Regions from separate parts of the Homo sapiens genome. Here region 2 is linked to region 1. Evidence: promoter capture Hi-C in human tissues and cell types (Jung and others, 2019). All regions are on one chromosome and are shown on one strand. The core of a region is centred on a gene start or on the middle of the fragment in contact, and the rest is flanking DNA. Distances in the headings are between cores, read along the strand shown.

Region 1 (4,449 bases), core at 676-3,175:
AGACTTCCATTATTTATGCCACAGAGAAAGGCTATGATTAACTAAACAACTTAAGTAACTGCGCTCAGCCTTCTGTGTGTGGCCCCACCTTCCTGACAATCACTGTGTTGGCTTTTGGCTTTGTAAGCATTTTAGGCTTCCCTGTGGAAGCTCACTCCTACCAGGTTTTATATATATATATATATATATATTTAATTCATCTATTCATCTACATAGTTGAACGGCTGAATCTCTCAATAGTTTTTCAACCTCATACGCAACGTAAGACACACTTGAAGAGTGCGGCGCAAAAGGTAAAAACCAGCCTAGAGTTTTAACATGTTTCATCTAACTTCCCAACGCGTGAACAACTACCAGCGGACACAGACACGTTCAGTCTGTATTACCCCGTCCTTGGGCAGTGAGGAAGAAGAAAACCTAGAAGGAAGAAGGTATCCCAGGATAGAAGCAGCAACAGCCGGCTGAAACCCAATTAGATTGCAGGAGAAAGAGAAAAGCCCTGTCTTAGTCTGTGGCCAAAAGACCTTTCCCAATCAAATTTTTCAACACCTGGAAAATTGGCTTATCTATTTGTAGAGAGCACCCAGAGACGAGCGTTAGAGCAGCGCTACCCTGGAGTACCAGTTCTTCGGAATGTTGACCGCCGGCCACGCACCGCTTGACAGCCACGGATCCGCTGGCGGAGCCGCAAGTTACAACCCAGGCGCCTGGCAAACTCACACTACACCTCAGTAGCAATAATCCCAACGGCAGGACACCTGGGGAGGGTGGGCTCGGTCTCCCGGGCCTGGCTCAATTATGTTCCTTTACACAGCATTCAATCATGTTTCAGGAGCCGTAGGTGAGGGGCTGGAGGTGGGAGTGGGGGACACATTTTCTAGCCCCCGACGTCTCCGCGGTTGGAAACTCTGGGCACCTCTTTCGGCCAGCGCTAAGACAATACACAAAGAGCAGGGAACCGGCGCTCCTCTGCGGCCAGAGCTCCGCGCCTAGTCACGGAAGAGCTGGGAATTAAGAATTCCGAGCTCAGCGAGAGCCCTGAAGAAGCACCGGAAATGCTTCCGATCGCTTCATAAGAGAAGTCAATTTGCAAATCAAAGTTGCAGGAACTCCGGACGCCTAGACTACTTCAGCGGGTTACTCGGGAACACCCAACAAGTTTGGCCACCGGGGGCTCGGCATGACAGCGCCGCGCCGCGAGACGACAGAAGCAACTTGTCGCTCGGGCGCCAAGCCAGAGCCCTGAGCCGTCTCCGCTCCCAAGCTCGGGAGAGCACCCAAGAGCCGGCGTCGGGAAAGCGGAGGTCCCTGCCTCCGGCAGCCAAATCCCTCAACTGAAGGCACCTCAGGGGCTCACCTGGACTGCACTCGCTTCCAGGGGCTTCCCCCAACAGTGCAACGCTTCACCGCGAACGCCTCACCTGCCTGCCAGCCCCAGGTGGCGGAGAAATTAACAAAAGAGCAAGCGAACAGGGGGAAAGGGAGACCCGGCGTAAAGTATAGTAAGGAGGGGAGGGCAGGCAGCTCGGCTTTCGGCGGAGAAAGAAGAGAGAGGCGGAACAGAGATGGCTTATACCCAAGGCACCGGCTCGGGAAGGCAACCCAGAAGGGAAGAGGTCGAGAAGCGGCAATGGGTTTTCTACTCCGCTTCCCATCACACACACACACGCACACACACCTCCCCCTTTTTCCTCCTTACCCAGCATGGAAAAGATGAAATCCTTGGCTGTGTGAATCTCCAGCGCTCTCTGGTCGTCGTATTCCCGCTGGTCGTGCTTCGTAAATTCTTGGATGAGTTTGTTCAATTCCTCCACCCGAGCTCCCGACCTGAAATCCAGCTCCGGGAACGCAGGCTTGTTGTTACAGCCCAGGGAGGCTGCCTTGTTGGCGGTGGGAGCCGCCATCTTCATGCAAAACGCGCCGAGTAGCAGCTCCGCGGCAGCGCGGCACCCACCCCCGCCCCCCACCCCGCCCCCCTGGGCCTCCTCCCCTCGCAGGCTCCCAGGCTTTGGCCCCGGCTCGTGGGCGGGTTGGCGGGCGGGCGTCTGGGCGGGCAGTCCCCCGCTCCGTGCGCTCTGGGCGTGCGAGCTTCGGGAGGAGCTGGACTGCAGCGAGGGTGCGTGTGTGGCCCCGACACCCTTTTCTCCGGCCCCACGCCCGCCCCGATGCTGCGCGTCCCTGCCCTGCCCTGGCCCTCTCTGGCAGCGGCAACGGCGGTCGTAGAGCCAACTGGAGCCTCCCCCGGGCGAGGAAAGTGAAGTGGAAACAATGTGAAATTCACCAGCTCTGAAATCAACAAGCTGCCGGCTCCGGTGTTACGGAGCCAGCACCAGCGTCTCCATTTAAAGGGACAGCGCACCCAGTGGAAAGGAAAATAAATAAATGACAGAGGTCTGCACGCATATACCACTTGCCAATCCGTACTTGGGAAGACGCGCGAGGTGTGGATGCATTCTTTCTCCACCTCCACGGCCGTCCCCCCATCCCCTTTCTGGGCAGGGTTTGCCAAGCGCATTCAAGGAGAAGAAAGTCTTCCTCCGTTTGATTTTAAGGGCGGTGTCCTGGGGGAGGACATCTCTGTGCGCGTTTACCTCTCTATCCCAAGAACTCCAATACCTTTAAATAGTAAAGGAAACTGCCTTAAGGAATATGAAACCTGTCTTCTACCCTTTTCCTCTTGGATTGCCAAGATGATAGGATTGAGCGTATAAAAAAAGAGGGTCCACATCTAACCCAGTATTGGCACTCCCACTAACCCCTAGATATCCCTACCTTTGCCCAAGGTAATTAATGACCTGAATAACAGCTTATTTATCTTAACATATAATGAGTTAATGAGATTCAACCTACTCTAATATAAAGATAGGGAAACTGAAGTGTGGGTGTGGGAGAGGGGAAACAATGTATTGCCCCAGGTTCCAAGAAATGTTGGATGACAAGATGAAAATTTTCTCATTCAACAGATAAAATTTGAGTACGCACCATTTGCCAGATGGAGTGACAGAATGTGACAGTGATAACCAAAAGACATGGCTCCTACCATGGAGTTAGGCTTACATGACAAGGCAGGTTCAATCTAAGTCATAGTCCTTTAGGCAGAATAGAGTCTCAGAGGTGGTTTTAGTGTTTATGGGGTGTATCATTCAAACACTTAGGAGGCCCATTGGCTGTGAGAAACATAGGTTATCTTCCTCCCTAATTCTCCAAAATCTCTCTTCTCTATCCCACAGTCCCTGATTTAGATCAGGTCTGTTTCACTTTCTTACCCGAGTTCTCATGGCCAAGAATACAAATTGTTTTGTTAGACATGGAAGGAAGTACGGACTCTTCCATGCCTTCCCCTATAAAATGGGAATAATAATTCCTGTCTCACAGGTTGTTTTAAGGATTACGTGAGATAAAACAGGTCAAGCACTTAGTTCAAGGACTGACATAATAAGTACTTAGCTATTATCAGCTTCTACTATTATTGTTATTAATTCTTTCACTGTTCCTCAATCTAGTAACAACTTGTTGCCAGAGTGATCTTTAGAAAACACAGACCTGACCACTGACCTCCCCCTGGAATTCCTCTCTTCTTTACTCCGTTTACACCAAAACCAATCCGCGTCTGCCTTTTTCTTACAGCTTTCCGGAGACCCTCCCCTCAAGCTGGTGGCAACTTTTCCTTCCTCAGAACCTACTCTCAGAAGCTTTCATATGATGCTAATGAATTTTGACCTTGCTTCATCATTGCTTTTTGTTTTGGGTTGTGTGTGTGTGTGTTTGTTTGTTTCTGAAACAGGGTCTTCCTCTGTAGCCCAGGCCAGAGTGCAGTGGCACAATCGTGGCTCACAGCAACCTCAACCTCCTGGGATTAAACAGTCCTTGCATCTAGATCTCTCAAAGGGATTACAGGCGTGAGCCACCACACCTGACCACTTCATCATTGTTAATGCAAGTTTTAGACTAAAAGATTCTTGGGGATGAGGGCTACATCTTATTCATCTTTGTATTTCCTGCAGCATATGGTCCTACCGAAGGGTCCTCTATGTTTATTGAATCAAGTAATGAGTGAAGAATTGTGGCATAACCAGTTAATTTCTCTTACTTTTCGTTTCCTTCTCTTTGAAACACACTTCCTCACCCACTCAGTATGAAAGAGAGAGGATCCATGCCTAGATAAATGCTGGTGGACTGATGAGGAAGTGACTTAAAAACTCTGGTTTTTAGGCAGGGCGTGGTGGTTCACGCCTCTAATCCCAGTACTTTGGAGGCCGAGGCGGGCAGATTGCCTGAGCTCAGGAGTTCGAGACCAGCCTGGGTAACACGATGAAATCCCATCTCTACTAAACATACAAAAAATTAGCCAGTTGTGGCGGCGTGCACCTGTAGTCCCAGCTACTTGGGAGGCTGAGGCAGGAGAATTGCTTGAACCCAGGAGGCGGAAGTTGCAGTGAGCCGAGATCG
Region 2 (3,881 bases), core at 1,337-3,836, 330 kb after region 1:
GTTATATACCCAGAAGGATGATTTCTGGATCATATGGTAATTCTACTTTTAGTTTTTTAGGAAACTTCCATACTATTTTCCAAAATGGCTAAACCAATTTGCATTCCCACCAACGATATACAAGGGTTTCCTTTTCTCCACATCCTCACCAACACTTCTTATCATTTTTGGTAACAGCCCTTCTAACAAGCATGAGGAGATACCACATTGTGGCTTTAATTTGCATTTCCCTGATGATTAGAGATGTTGAGTATTTTTTCCATCTACCTTTTGGCTATTTGTGTCTCTTCTTTTGTAAAATGTCTGTTTAGATACTTTGCCAAGTTTTTAATTGACTTGTTTTCTTGCTATTGAGTTGTATGGATTCCTTATATATTTTTCATGTTAGCCCCATAGCAAATGTGCAGTTTACAAATGTTTTCTCCCATTTCATGTGCAAGGAGAATCCTAATGTCATCAACAAACAGAAATACACTTCTTCCATTCCTATATGAATGCCTTTTATTTCTTCTTCTTGCCTAATTGCTCTAGCTAGGACTTCCAGACTATGTTGAATAGCTGTGAGAGTGGGAATCACTGTTGTCTTTCTAATCTTACAGGAAAAACTTTCAACTTTTTACCATCGAGCATGATGGTGTCTGTGGGCTTGTCATATATGGCCTTTATTGTGTTAAGGTACATTCTTTCTATGCCTATTTTTTGAGAGTTTTGTAGCGTGAATGGGTGTTGGATTTTGTCAAATGTTTTTTCTGCATCTACTGAGATACTTGTGTGCTTTTTGTCGTTCATTTTGTTAATATGGTATATTTATTTATTAATGTATTTATTTATTTATTTTTGAGACAGAGTCTTACTCTGTCACCCAAGCTGGAGTGCAGTGGTGTGATCTTGACTCACTGCAACCTCCACCCGCATCGAGCTCAAGCTGTCCTCTCACCTCAGCCTCTCAAGTAGTTAGGACCACAGGCACATGCCACCATGTTAGCTTTTGGTATTTTTGTAGAGATGAGGTTTAGCCATGTTTCCTAGGCTGGTCTAGAACTCCTGGGCTCAAGATATCCATCTGCCTCGGCCTCCCAAAGTGCTGGGATTACAAGCATGAGCCACAGTGCCTGGCCCATATTTATTGATTTATATATGTTCACCCATCCTTGCATCCCTGGGATAAGTCCCACTTGATTATGGTGAGTGATCGTTTAAATTTACTGTTGAATGCAGTTTGCTAGTATTTTGTTAAAGATCTTTGCATTTGTGTTCATCAGGGATATTGGCCTGTAGTTTTCTTGGGGTGTTCTTGCCTGGCTTTGGTGTCAGGGTAATACTGGCCTCATAAAATAAGCTCTGAGGTAGTCCCTGTTTTATAATTTTTTGGAAGAGCTTGAGAAGGATTGGTATTTCTTCTTGAGCACTTAATGGGATTCACCTGTGAAGCCATCAGGTCCTGGGCTTTCCTTTGGTGGGAGATTGTTTATTACAATTCAATTTCCTTATTTATTATTGGTCTACTCAGATTTTCTGTTTCTTCCTGATTCAGTCTTGGGTTGCATGTTTCTAGGAATTCATCCATTTCTTCTGTGTTATCCAATTTCTTGGTATTTAGCTGTTCATAGTAGTCTTCTATGATCCTTTGTATTTCTGGGATGTTGAAAGGAGTTAGTTAGCTTGCTTTAGGCAGACAGTAAGTAAAGGATCCCCAGAGAACCTCTGACCCACCCCACAGGTGCTTACACCAGATATTTTGTGCAGATAAGGGAACTTGCACAGGGGGCTTGCCTAAACATGCCCACAGCACACTAAGGGCCCACATGCACACTGGAGGAATATGTGGAGCCACCAGAAATTCACGCCTTATACAGATAGGGAGCTCAGCCTCATCAGGTTATATATAAAGCCCTTGTATTCAGCTCTGAGGGGGCAATGACTAACCTGCTTTCAGGACCCCTCTCTTTGCTGAGAACATTCCTTTTGCTTAATAAATTCTACTCCAGTCACTCTTCAAGTGTCTGCGTGCCTAATTATTCCTGGTCATGAGACAAGAGCCCAGACCTAGCTGAGCTAAGGAGTAAAAAATCCTGCATCAATATCAGTTTCCTCTTTTTTTTGTCTCAAGATATTTTTAAATTTTCCTTTTAATTTTTTATTTGACTCATTGGTTGTTGAAGGGCATGTTATTTAATTTCCACATAGAGTTTTCCAAGATTCCTCCTGTTATTGATTTCTAGGTTTGTGCCATTGTGGTCAGAAGAAATACTTGATAAGATTTCAGTCTTCTTAAATTTGTTGAGATTTGCTTTGTGATATATCATATGATCTACCCTGGAGAATACTCCATGTGCAATTGAGAAAAATGTATATTCAATTGTTGTTGGATGAAGTTTTCTGTAAATATTTGTTAGGTCCATTTGGCTTAAAGTATAGTTCAAGTTCAATATTTCCTTGTTGATTTTTGGTCTAGATCTGTCCAATGTTGAAAGCGGGACATTATTGTATTGCAGTCCATGTCTCTCATCAGATCTATTAATATTTGCTTTATGTATTCGGTGCTTTGATATTGGGTGCATATATAATTGTTATATTTTCTTTATGAATTGACCCCTTCATCATTATATAATAACTTTTCATATCTTTCTGCAGTTTTTCACTTACAGTCTATTTTGTCTGATAGAAGTATAGCTACTCCCACTTTGTGTTGGTTTCCATTTGTGTGGAATATCTTTTTTCATCCCTTCATTATCAGCTTATATGTGTTCTTAAAGGTTAAGAGAGGTGAAGTTAATCTATTGTAGGCAGCATATAGTTGGGTCTTTTTTTTTAATCCATTGAACCATTCAATATGTTTTGACTGGAGAATTTAATACACTTACATTCAAAGTAATTATTGGTAGGTAAGAACTTACTATTGGTGTTTTGTTGTTTTCTGGTTAATTTGTAGATCTTTTGTTTTCTGTTTTCCTCTCTTGCTTGCTTCCTTTGCAATTTAATGATTTTTTGTAGTGGTATGCTTTGAATTCTTTCTTTTTATCTTTTGTGTATCTACTAAGAATTTTTCCTTTGTGGTTACTAGGAGGCTTACATAAAACGTCTTATACTAATGACAAGCTATTTTAAGCTTATAATTACTTCACTTTGATCACTTGTACAAACTCTAAACTTTTACTATCCCCTCCAACAATTTGTTTTTATTGACAATTTTTAAATAGTTTTTGGCATGTCCATTAGCAAAGTATAGTTGCTATATGTGTTTTGAATAGTTTTTCTTCTTTTAACCTTTATATTAGAGATATAATTTATTTTCATACTACAATTACAGTACAAGTGTTCTGTGTTTGACTATATACTTACTTTTACCAGTGAGTTTTTATTTTTATGTATTTCCATGTTGCTACTTAGTGATATTTTCCTTCAATGTGAAGTGCCCATTTTAGTATTTCTTGTAAGGCAGGTCTAGTTGTGATAAATTCCCTCAGCTTTTGTTTATCTGAGAAAGTTTTTTTTAAAGCTCCCCTTCTTCTCTTCCTTTTTGAAGGACAGGATTGCTGAGTGTAGTATTCTTGGTTGGCAGGGTTTTTTTTCTTTTAGCTCTTTGACCATATCTTATTCCCTTCTACCCTGCAGGGTTTCTGTTGAAAGATCTGATGGGGGTCCCCTTTTATGTAACAAGTTGCTTTTCCCTTACAGCTTTCCTATCTTCTCTTTGTCTTTAACTTTCCACAATTTGATTATAATGTATCTTGATTTGGTTTGCCTTGGATTCATCCTGTTAGATGTTTGTCAAGCTTCTGGATTTCTGTTTCCTTCCCTACACTTAGGAAGGTTTTCGCAATTGCAGTAGATTCTTGTTTAATGTTCATAGGTTCTTGGAAACTGCAACTTTAACCAAA

What was found. Contacts are between HindIII fragments. The study calls those that stand out against the background at their distance.
Region 2: a fragment that was not itself captured here is called in contact with the fragment with the promoter of MB21D2 in region 1 in 1 of the 25 tissues and cell types used here (dorsolateral prefrontal cortex).

The regions. Positions count from the first base shown.
Region 1 is chr3:192,915,931-192,920,379 of GRCh38, forward strand. MB21D2 (Mab-21 domain containing 2) reads right to left here and starts at 1,926. Exons shown (of 2, transcript NM_178496.4): 1 at 1,700-1,926. The coding sequence starts at 1,910. RefSeq lists an enhancer at 892-1,221 and a silencer at 1,872-2,231. The HindIII fragment of the contact is 14,649 bases long and covers 1-4,449 here.
Region 2 is chr3:193,245,544-193,249,424 of GRCh38, forward strand. The region is part of intron 1 of PLAAT1 (phospholipase A and acyltransferase 1); the gene reads left to right. Among named protein-coding and RNA genes, the nearest start is that of MGC2889, 5.7 kb to the left of the region's middle. The HindIII fragment of the contact is 3,416 bases long and covers 879-3,881 here.